Linked DNA regions of Homo sapiens: regions 2 and 3 are each linked to region 1. The links are contacts of gene promoters, found by promoter capture Hi-C in blood cells and fetal thymus (Javierre and others, 2016). All regions are on one chromosome and are shown on one strand. The core of a region is centred on a gene start or on the middle of the fragment in contact, and the rest is flanking DNA. Distances in the headings are between cores, read along the strand shown. Region 1 overlaps CDH4 (cadherin 4). Region 2 holds the start of SYCP2 (synaptonemal complex protein 2). Region 3 holds the start of LINC02910 (long intergenic non-protein coding RNA 2910).

What was found. The method cuts DNA at HindIII sites, captures the fragments that hold promoters and counts their contacts. A CHiCAGO score of 5 or more calls a contact.
Region 2: a contact is called between the fragment with the promoter of SYCP2 here and a fragment that was not itself captured in region 1, in 1 of 17 cell types (total CD8 T cells). The highest score is 6.0, in total CD8 T cells.
Region 3: the fragment with the promoter of LINC02910 here is called in contact with a fragment that was not itself captured in region 1 in 1 of 17 cell types (endothelial precursors); the score reaches 5.9 in endothelial precursors.

Annotation. Positions count from the first base shown.
Region 1 is chr20:61,261,193-61,264,362 of GRCh38, forward strand. The region is part of intron 2 of CDH4 (cadherin 4); the gene reads left to right. Among named protein-coding and RNA genes, the nearest start is that of CDH4, 11 kb to the left of the region's middle. RefSeq lists an enhancer at 1,052-1,563. The HindIII fragment of the contact is 579 bases long and covers 1,324-1,902 here.
Region 2 is chr20:59,932,213-59,935,382 of GRCh38, forward strand. It overlaps SYCP2 (synaptonemal complex protein 2), which reads right to left and starts at 1,425. Exons shown (of 45, transcript NM_014258.4): 1 at 1,357-1,425. It also overlaps a transcript of FAM217B not described here. RefSeq lists a silencer at 1,716-2,115. The HindIII fragment of the contact is 1,592 bases long and covers 1,258-2,849 here.
Region 3 is chr20:60,054,400-60,057,569 of GRCh38, forward strand. It overlaps LINC02910 (long intergenic non-protein coding RNA 2910), which reads left to right and starts at 1,526. Exons shown (of 4, transcript NR_161293.1): 1 at 1,526-1,609. The HindIII fragment of the contact is 13,245 bases long and covers 1-2,343 here.

The DNA.
Region 1 (3,170 bases), core at 363-2,862:
TCAGTGATTCCTAAGTCAGTGATTCCTAAGTCAGTGGATCAGGATTCCCACCCTGCAAGATTCCTAACCGCTGCTTCTCTATGCTCACTGCCACTAAGCAGACCCCCTTCATTGTAGAAGGCAGTGCATGCACCAGCTACAGAAATGAGGATGTGTGAACTCACTGACGCTGTGACTTAAAGATTCAGGTTTTGCGTTTGAGAAATATGTGTTTTAATGAGTCTTCAGATGAGGGAGCATGAGGCTTTGCAGAATTATAATATAATAACATTATGTTCTGTCCAGTCCTTGGTATACGATATCTCATTTAACTTTCACAAAAGCCCTTCCAGGGAGGTAAAATTGTTCTCATTTTATGGATCAGTAACTGATGATCGGTGAGTTCTGGAGATTGGCCTAAGGGTAGGAGATTTGCTCTGTTTTCCCTCTTTGTGCAGTCCTAGGCACTTAGCTCATTCCTATCTCCAAATTAATGTTAAAGAAGATGGTTTTAGAGCACCACTGTCACGTGCAGACAGGATCGGACCCAGATGTTCAGGGCCACAGCCATAAGACCAGCAGTGACCAGGCACACAGGTATGTGCAGTAAACAGAGGCCCTCAGTGTGTCAGAAAGTGCTTGGTTGCAGTTGCTCATGTATAAGGCTCAACTGAAGTGGGTCTAAACTCTCGACACCGGGGGTTTGCAAAACCAGCCCTGGGATTAGAAGAGCCCGCGGCTTCTGTGATGCCAGTGGGAGCTTTCAATTCTGAGCATGCAGCGAGCAGTCCCAGAGCCGAGCTCTCTCTCGGATTTTAGACTCTGCCAGCGCTGGGGAAGCCGGGCAGAGAGGGAGCAGAGAGAAGAGTCCGGCTGGTCCTGGAAGCCCTGAGCACGTTCCATCTGAGCTGGGTTTATGCACGGATCCATTGTTGTCAACACTCACGTTGTGACATGGGGCACCAGGAACCTTAGTGAGGCCGGTTACAGATTGAGAGAAAGTGCCACGACTGTGCAGCTGGCCAGCCGGGGCGGGGCTCCCTGACGGCCTCTCTTGAGCTGATGCCGTGAGAGCTGGTCCTGAGGCTGCCGTGGCCTTTCTGCCCATGTCGGGGTCCTGGGTGTCTGCAGAGATCTCGTACTCTAAGCTGAGAGAGAGCAAGGTGCTTGGTATAACTTGAAACAGTCTGAAGATGTGGTGCTTTCCGAGGTTCACGTGGGTTCCCGTTTTCTGCCAAAACCCCTTGCGGCGAAGCCCCTTTGCACGCTTTTGCCTCCAGGGGTGGCCTTCCTGGGCGCAGGGTCACTTCCACTCTGGGACTGCGTGGCGACTGGGTTGGTGTAAGCTTCCAAGACCTGTGGCTTCTTTGTTTCAGAAATAATGATTTTTCTAATTCTACCCTGCAGTGTTAAAAAATCACAATGAAATTCATAACCAAGTTCAAAGGAAGTGTATTTGGTGTGTGCATCCCTGTATTGTGTGCTCCATGACACTAATTTCAAAATGTGGAAATTTTGTGACTTCTCTTATGTTGCAAATGGAGGTGGATAAAGGAAAGGGCTTTTTCCTCCTTACCTCCTTACCTCCCACCCTCCTTCCTCCTTCCCTCTCTCCTCCCTCCCTCCTTCCCTCCTTTCCTCTCTTCCCTCTCCCCTTCCCTCCCCTTCCCCTCCCTCCCTCCCTTCCTTCCACCCTCTCTCCCTTGCTCTCTCCCTCCCTCCCTTCCTCCTTTCCTTCCTTTCTTTTTTCTTTGAAAGCTGGGTTAAGTAGATGCCAGGACTAATCATGAACTGAGAGAGAGAGAGAGAGAGAGCAAGCAAGCATTCATCTTTTCAAAAAGTGTGCCTATTATTCTGACTTTTTGAAGAAGTAATTTCTCCTCCAAGTGAATTCCACTATAAAAAATACCATAAGCCGAATGAAGCTTCTTTCCGTCAAGGGCGGTAAAGTTCTCCCCGGTGTGTTCTTGTAAAACCTCATGGCATTTGCAGGCTCCTTCAGTCCCCAGAGTGGGACTGTGGTGTCTGGCAAGCTGGGCTGGTAAAATCCTTGGTTTTTCGTCAAAAGGCTCAGAATTTTGGTGCCTTTTTGCCCGGGCTCTGGGCTGCCCTCTCCTGGTGGCCTCCGGTATTGTCTCTGGCTGGTGTCTGCTTTCAGTTCTTAAACAAAAGAGAACAAACCAACCAAAAATCCCTATTTAATTATCTTTGACCCAGTATGTGCTCCCCGAGGCCATTTTCCTGGCAACCCCCACATCAGGGGCCAGGAAGGAGGGGAGGAGCTGTTGTTTGGGGGGACTTACCATGTGCCAATGTGTCTTCTCATTTAACGCTGTCAGGAGACCTGCAGCCTAAGGTAGTTAGAAGGCATGCCCCAGATCACTCGGTATGGGCAGGGGACTTTGTCTGTATGTTTTTATCTCCCACACTGCCTTTTCCAGGAGGAATTTACTTAGATTACAAATTGTATTATTTTCTTATTGCAGTATAAATCCCCACATATGTAGCAGCTTAAACAACACAAAGTTATTATCTTGTGGTTCTGAAGGTCAGAAGTCCAGCTCCAGTCCCTGTGCTGAAATCAAGGTGTCTGCAGGGTGGGTTCCTTCTGGAGGCTCCTGGGGAGAATCTGTCTCCTTGTGCCTCCCAGCTCCTCAGGGCTCCTGCACTCCTTGGCTCCTGGCCGCTTCCTCCGTCTTCAGAGCCAGCCGTGAAGCATCTCTGTGCCGTCCTCCAGGGTCATTGAGGGTCACTGGTCACATCCACCTCTCTCTACATCCTTCTCTTCCACTTGTAAGAATCCCTGTGATTACCTTGGGCCTCCCTGAGTAACCCAGGATAATCTCCCGTTGCAAGACTCTTAATTCAGTCACCTCTGCCAAGTCCCCACTACCACGTGAGATCCCAGGCTCACAGCCTCCGGAATTAGGATGGGGACATCTCTGGGGAGTCGTGATTCTGCTGACCACATGCGTGTCTGACGACAGAGCAATCCTAGCAGGTGTGTGTGGGAGTTTCCCACTGGCTTCCGCACACTAAGGACTTGCTATGCGTCCCACACTGTGCGGTGACCTTCATTCAACCCTGCAGAACCCAGTGGTTCCTTCATTCAGTCCTACACATACCTCAGTGGTTCCTTCATTCAATCTTACACATATCTCAGTGGCTCCTTCATTCAATCTTACACATAT
Region 2 (3,170 bases), core at 175-2,674, 1.3 Mb before region 1:
ATGGGGGAGGCAAAGATTTTCCCCCAAAGGAAAAACTGCTGAATGAATGCAAGCAGCAGTAGATAATTCAAAGTCCCCTCTGCCCTGGTAACTAACATAGCTAAGGTGTCCAAAAAGACATTAAAGGTGAATGAAGGGGAGGGAAGGCGTCCTCCTCCTCCCATCATTACTAAAAAATGTAGGCCGGGCGAGGTGGCTCACACCTGTAATCCCAGCACTTTGGGAAGCCGAGGCAGGTGGATCACCTGAGGTCAGGAGTTCGAGACCAGCCGGGCCAACATGGAGAAAACCCGTCTCTACTAAAAATACAAAATTAGCTGGGCGTGGTGGCGCGCCAAGTAGTCCCAGTTACTCCGGAGGCTGAAGCAGGAGAATCGCTGGAACCCGGAAGATGGAGGTTGCAGTGACGCGAGATCGCACCACTAAACTCCAGCCTGGGTGACAGAGCGAGACTCCGTCTCGGGAAAAAAAACAACAAAAAAAAACCACGCTGCCGTATTCGCAGATGCTCGGCCAGCCTGGAGCCCGGTCCAGAAAAGGCCGCACGTGGAGCCACGTGTCGCGCATTGAGCCGCCGCGGGACGCATCAGGCCCAGCTGCGCGGAGGGGCTGGCGGCCTCAACCGCAAGGAGAGGCCGCAGGTGGGGACGGCGGGAGGGAGAGAAGGGACTGAAGGCGCCGAGCAGGAGGAAGGTTTTGCGCGCACTCCCTTCTTCCCTAAGTGGAACCGGCAGTGGCAACAACGAGGCCGAAGGCGAAGTCCCTGCTCCCACCGCCGGCACGGTGACCCTTTTCCCAGGGTCACCCCCGAACCAACAAAGCACACACACACCCGAGATGCGCCCCAGGCCGCAGCGCCAACCCCCCTTCAGATGTCCCGGAGACAGGCGAGCAGCGGTCCCCAGGGCTCCCGTCGCCACCGCTTCTCCCGCACCCCTCAGCCTCCTCGGGCCGGCGACGCGCGCAGCCCCAGGCCTGCTCCCCGCTCGCCAAGCGCACCGCCCCGCGCCTCAGCCACCTTGACCGAGTCGCCCACGCGCGGGGGCGGCTCCGAGCGCCCATTTCCCATCCCCGAGGCCGAGGCTGGCCAGGCAGGTGCTGATGGGGAGCCTCGCGCCTGCGCGAGCCACCCTCGCCGCGAACTCTGCACAGCCCACGCCCTGGCCCAGCCTCGGCGCCTCCCCTCCGCCCACTGCCGCAGAACCGCACCCCCTCCCCCTCGGCAGCTTCCACAACGGCTCCGCCTCAACCGTCGGAAGCTTCTCGCCTGCCGGCTTGAAAGGCCAAGCCGAAGCCCCACCCTCCCTCCGCGCCCCGCCGTGGGGGAAGCCCACCCAGGCACTCTGCTCAACCTGCCTGCGGCAGGAGGCGTCCGCGTAGTGTCGGTGGAGCCGCCCCCTATGCCGCCGAGCGTCGCAACTCTGCGCCTCAGGGACCGCCGCAGCGCCTCCGGCGAACGGCGGAAGGCGGGAAGCGCCCGTCCAATCCGCGCCAGGTGCGGTCGATAGTGCGTCCAATCGGCGTCGCCGCCAGCCAGGTCCCGCCCCCCCCATCCCCCCCACCCCCGCCAACGCTCGCCGGGGTCGCCCGAGGCCTGAGCCAAGGGGGACGCTGTGGGCGCGGCTCAGGCCAGGCCCTCAGGTTAGTGGGTCCCCGCTGTCCCCGCGCTTCGGCCCGTCCTCTCGCGCTATGCTCTCCTGATGAACGCCCCGCGAGCGGAGTCACCCCCGCCAGCGAGGAGACTCGCTGCCTTGACTGGGGCCCTGGTCCCGGGACAGGCGAGCAGGAAGGGATGGAAGGGACGGAAGCGCGGGCGGGACCAGGAGAAGCCCATCCCCGCGCTATGCGTCCCCAGAGCCACTGGGACCCGCGGCTCCAGCCAGCCCTGCAGGGGCGAGCTGGACCGGGGGACCAGGGCGCCGGGCCGACGACTCCTGGGTGAGGCCTGGCTCCTGCCGGCAGGGGGCGCAGGGCCGCCTGGGCTCCTGGGTGCGGGTGCCGGAGGGCGGGAGAGACCGCAGGTCCGGAGACGGGGTGCTGAGCTGGGTACCCAACTGTGTATTCCTAGGCTCTTTCAGACGCTTCCATTTAAGAGATCCGTTTAACTTATGCAGCCAGCGGGTGCTTGTGTAAAAAATCGCAGGCCCTTCTGAGACAGGCACAGCCGCGAAAGGGTCTCCTTGCCCCTTGGCTCGCAGAGGGCGTCGGTGTTCGGCGCTCAGTCTTCTGCGTGTTTTCCCCGTGCTCGCGTTCTGAGATGGAAACTGTTCCACGTGCACTGAGATGCAGCTCGGTCTTTCTAACAGCTTCGTAATTATTTAATCATGTGGATTAACTTCATCCGAGGAATTCAATCCTCCACTGATGAGCCTACACTTCTATTACAAATAATACTGCAGCAAACCACCTTTGGATTAATATTTGTGTCGGATCAATTTTTAAAAGTTGAATTGTATGTGTAGTTAAACTTTTATAGGTATCTTCAAATCAAAATTTAAAATTATATTTTAATAACATTTTAATTTCTTATCTAAAAGGCACTAATTGTTTAAAAATATGGGATTAAGATTTAAATGTGCGGTGGAAAGCACCTGAAAAAAATAAACACAAGGTAATAGAATCAAAGCTCAGTTGTGGACCAGAGCAGATCAAATCACAGTAAATAAGCTCTCAGAGGTGTTTTAAATATTCTGCTTAGCTAGAATTACCAACTTCTTGACAACTTTGTAACTACCCCCATTGAACTTAATTTTGATATCTTAGTTTTTTAATTCAGAGCTGACAGATTACATATGCAATCTAAGGTACACAGGTGTACGCAGGGATTTGAGGGGATTTTATATGTTCAAAGCTTTCAATGCTTTTGAATTATACGTTTAAGTACTAATAATGTATAACACAAAATGTAAGAAGATCGAAGAGTGCTTCAAAATTGTGACCTGGCAATTTTGCATAATTATTTTCATACCTAGTTTTCCGCCAATAGATCTAAGATCCTTCATGGTGGAGTTGCGAACGCACAGAAATTTTCCTAATACACTTCAAAAATTAATAGTGATGATTTTTTACCTTGCCGCTTTTTAGTTGAAGAAAAATGTTAGTCTTTTTTATTGCTTCATGTGTTCAGGAAGCCTGCGGATTATTTAGTAAACATCCGTAAACTACAACAT
Region 3 (3,170 bases), core at 276-2,775, 1.2 Mb before region 1:
TTCCTAGTTTTGTGAAAAAAGCCCCAAATATCTGTATGAGCCTAGATAAATGACAAGAAAGGAAAACAGTAAGATTTTTATAATGGTTATTGCTCAATGGTTGGATTTTTAAAAATACTCTTCTATAATTTCTAAATTTTATGCCCTGAGGATGTATTACCTCCATAGTCAGAAAAATTATGAAAGGTATTTAAAACCCAAACTGGCTTTGGGCATGCAGAATGCTTGGTTATTTCTGAAGTATAAAAATAACTCCCCCTCTGTCCCATCAGCACGCGTGTTGCAGGGAGTCTGACGTTGCTCGCTAAGTCTCTTTGGTCGTTTCATACTAATGCCCTTTGCTCCCCTGATTATCTCTCTGAGGTTGGGGCCGGGGGATGGGGGTGTGCTAGGCCTCCTGGATGTCTGTCTGCTGCCAAAACATCCTCTCCTGTCTCTGTCTCATTGGTGCATTTTGATGAACCTGTATTGCCTGGTCACTGCGCGCTAACCACCAAATTATGAAACATTTGTGCTGCAAGGGAGCTGAGAGATCCTTAAACTCAATGAACCATTAGGCATAAGACACACACACACACATACACACGTGAATACACACAAACACACAAACAGCTTGGCTGCTCTGGGTGAAGCATGTGTGTGTTTGGGGGAAATTTCCTTCCCCACCCGTGGTCGTCCATTTGCCCATGAGCAGCTTCCGAGGCAGGTCCGTGGACCCCAACGCTGTGTAACACCGTGTGAAAAACACAAAGGCTTGCAGCCCTCTCACTGCAGACGTGGGAACACGACTCTGTTTAAAACCCTTCAAAGCCCGCCTTCTTGCCGTGTGATGCTGCCTGGGCCAGCAGGGCAGGTCACCACGCTGTCTCTTCAAAGCAGCTCGCTCATGCCCACAGCGCTGGGCACAAGGGCAGCCACGAGCTGTTTGATTTCTGCGTCCCCAGCAGATGGCTTGGTGCACAGGGGCAGGGCTCGTCTGTCCCTCTCACTGCTGCGTCCCAGGCTATGTCTCCACCATGTAACTTCAGACAAGTTCCTCAGCGTCTCTGTGTCCTGGTTCCCTCATTTGTAACATCAGGATATTGATAAGGATCATAGTAATAGGGATGTCCTTATGGGGCCTCATGAAAATGAAGAGTTCTCTGTGATGTGCCTGGAACCACAGAGGGCAGCAAGTGGGAGCCACAGAAAGTCATCTCTTTATCATAGTTGTCATTGGTAACTATGACGGTTATCAAGGGCAGGGGTCTCCCACCTTCTGCATCCAGGCCTTGTCATTCCTTATAAAATTTTCTCCTTTCAAGGACTTTCAATGCCCTGAAAACGGAATGCTCCTCCCTGCTCCCCATCAGCTGCTGCAGAGCCCTGAACCCCTTGAACTTGCCTTGCTTAGTTCTTTCAGGGGCTGCCTTGGATGCCACCTCACTTCCCTCTTCTTGGCTCTGTGGCTGTCAGAGGGGCTGGGCACTGGGTTACTTCATCAGTTCCTGGGTGTTGATCGGCAGGAAACAGTGGTTTCCTGTTCATATCCTGCCTGAGCCTGGGCCGGGTGGAGGTGTCCTGCATGGAGTCTTGTGAAATCGCGTGGACTGCAACACCCAGCAGCGCGGTGAGTCCACCCTGAAATCCACAGTGACCCACGCGGCATGTGCTGGGAATTGAACGCTTGGGGAAAGAGCTGGGCTCCAGCGGATCAGCCCCGACCAAGTCGTTCCCACAGCTCAGGACCGGACGCTACAAGCCCACTTTGTAGCAGTTTGGCGGACGGCAAACTTTTGCAACACAGTGCAAAAACCATTTAACACCTTTAAGGGAATTGGAAATGGGTTTTTCATGTGTGGTGGTGCTGAAAATTGAGAATAATGACAGAATTATTAAAAACAGCCTTCTCGGCCTTAGACTCTTAATTGCCTCTGGTCTGTAAAACTGACAAATAAGCACTGTAGAAGCCACAGATGAAATATGTCGTCTTGGGAGCCCTGGAGAATTGTCTCTGAATTCTTTTGTTTATGGATTGTAGAAACTGCTTTGGGGGTAGTTGGATGTAGAAGCAGAAGGACAGAGTGGGGAGCTGGGAGCAGGAGGCCTGGGTTTGTCTCCTGAGTCTGTTTCCACTGGGGCCTGAGGCTCCCGTGTGAGGGAACATGAATGGGCCAGGCACATGGGCCCTGTGGGGTGACAGAGCTGTGGGCTCCATGGTGGCTCTGTGGGCAGCTAGCTTGGGGATGGCTGAGATAAAGACAAGTAGTTTTCCTTCCTGCAGGACTTCTCAGAGCCTTTAGTGTGGTTATAATGATAGAAAACAGTATTAAGTCCATACCCTGAACCAGAAACAATGCTAAAAGCTTTGCACTTGGCCTTTTTTTTTCTTTTTCTTTTATCAACATGTGTGAGGACGGAAGCTTAGGCTTACAGATATGGACTCATTGAGAGTGAGTGGACGTGTCTGATCTTTAACCCAGTTCTGTCTGACCAAAAAGCCTGTGCTCTAACCACTGTGCACCCCTGCCTGTCTGTCCTGTTGAGAGAACTGTAGGGAAAGCCTTGAGATTATGTATCCAGTGCTCCCCTCCTCCTGATTGGAAGATGGCAGCTCAGAAGGTTAGGGTGCCTTCTCCTGTCCTCCGAGTGGTTAGATGCACGTGTCCTCTTCTGTCCTCTGCTCTTCCCACATCCCTCTCTCTCTGGTGCTCTGGTGGAGCCCCTGGGATCAGGGGTCACAGGAGCACCTGGGCCATTTGCATGGTTGTTGGTAAAGGGTGTTCCCCCACCCCCCATTAAGGTGCCTGCCATCAAAGTGCCTTATTGCTTGAGTTCCAATCTCGGCTTCACAACTCTGTAGCTGTGTGACTTTGCACAATGTACTGAGCCTCTCTGTGCCTGAACATCCTTGTTTGTAGATAGTAAAGATAATTGTCCCTTACTCCTAGGTTTCACATTGAGTGTTTAGCAAGTTAACGTTTGTAACGTGTGAAGTCATAAGATGCAGGACTGGATGACTGCCCTACCCACAAGAGGCCTAGGATCTTCCCAAGTTGCACTACTTATGGGACAGGTCTGCCAAGCAGCCCTTGTGAAGATAAAGGTGGTGATGAGTTCCTCCCACAAAACAAGAGCCTCAGAGAGACTGGAAAATAACCCCCGGTGCCTTTTATCAACTGGCCAGCAGA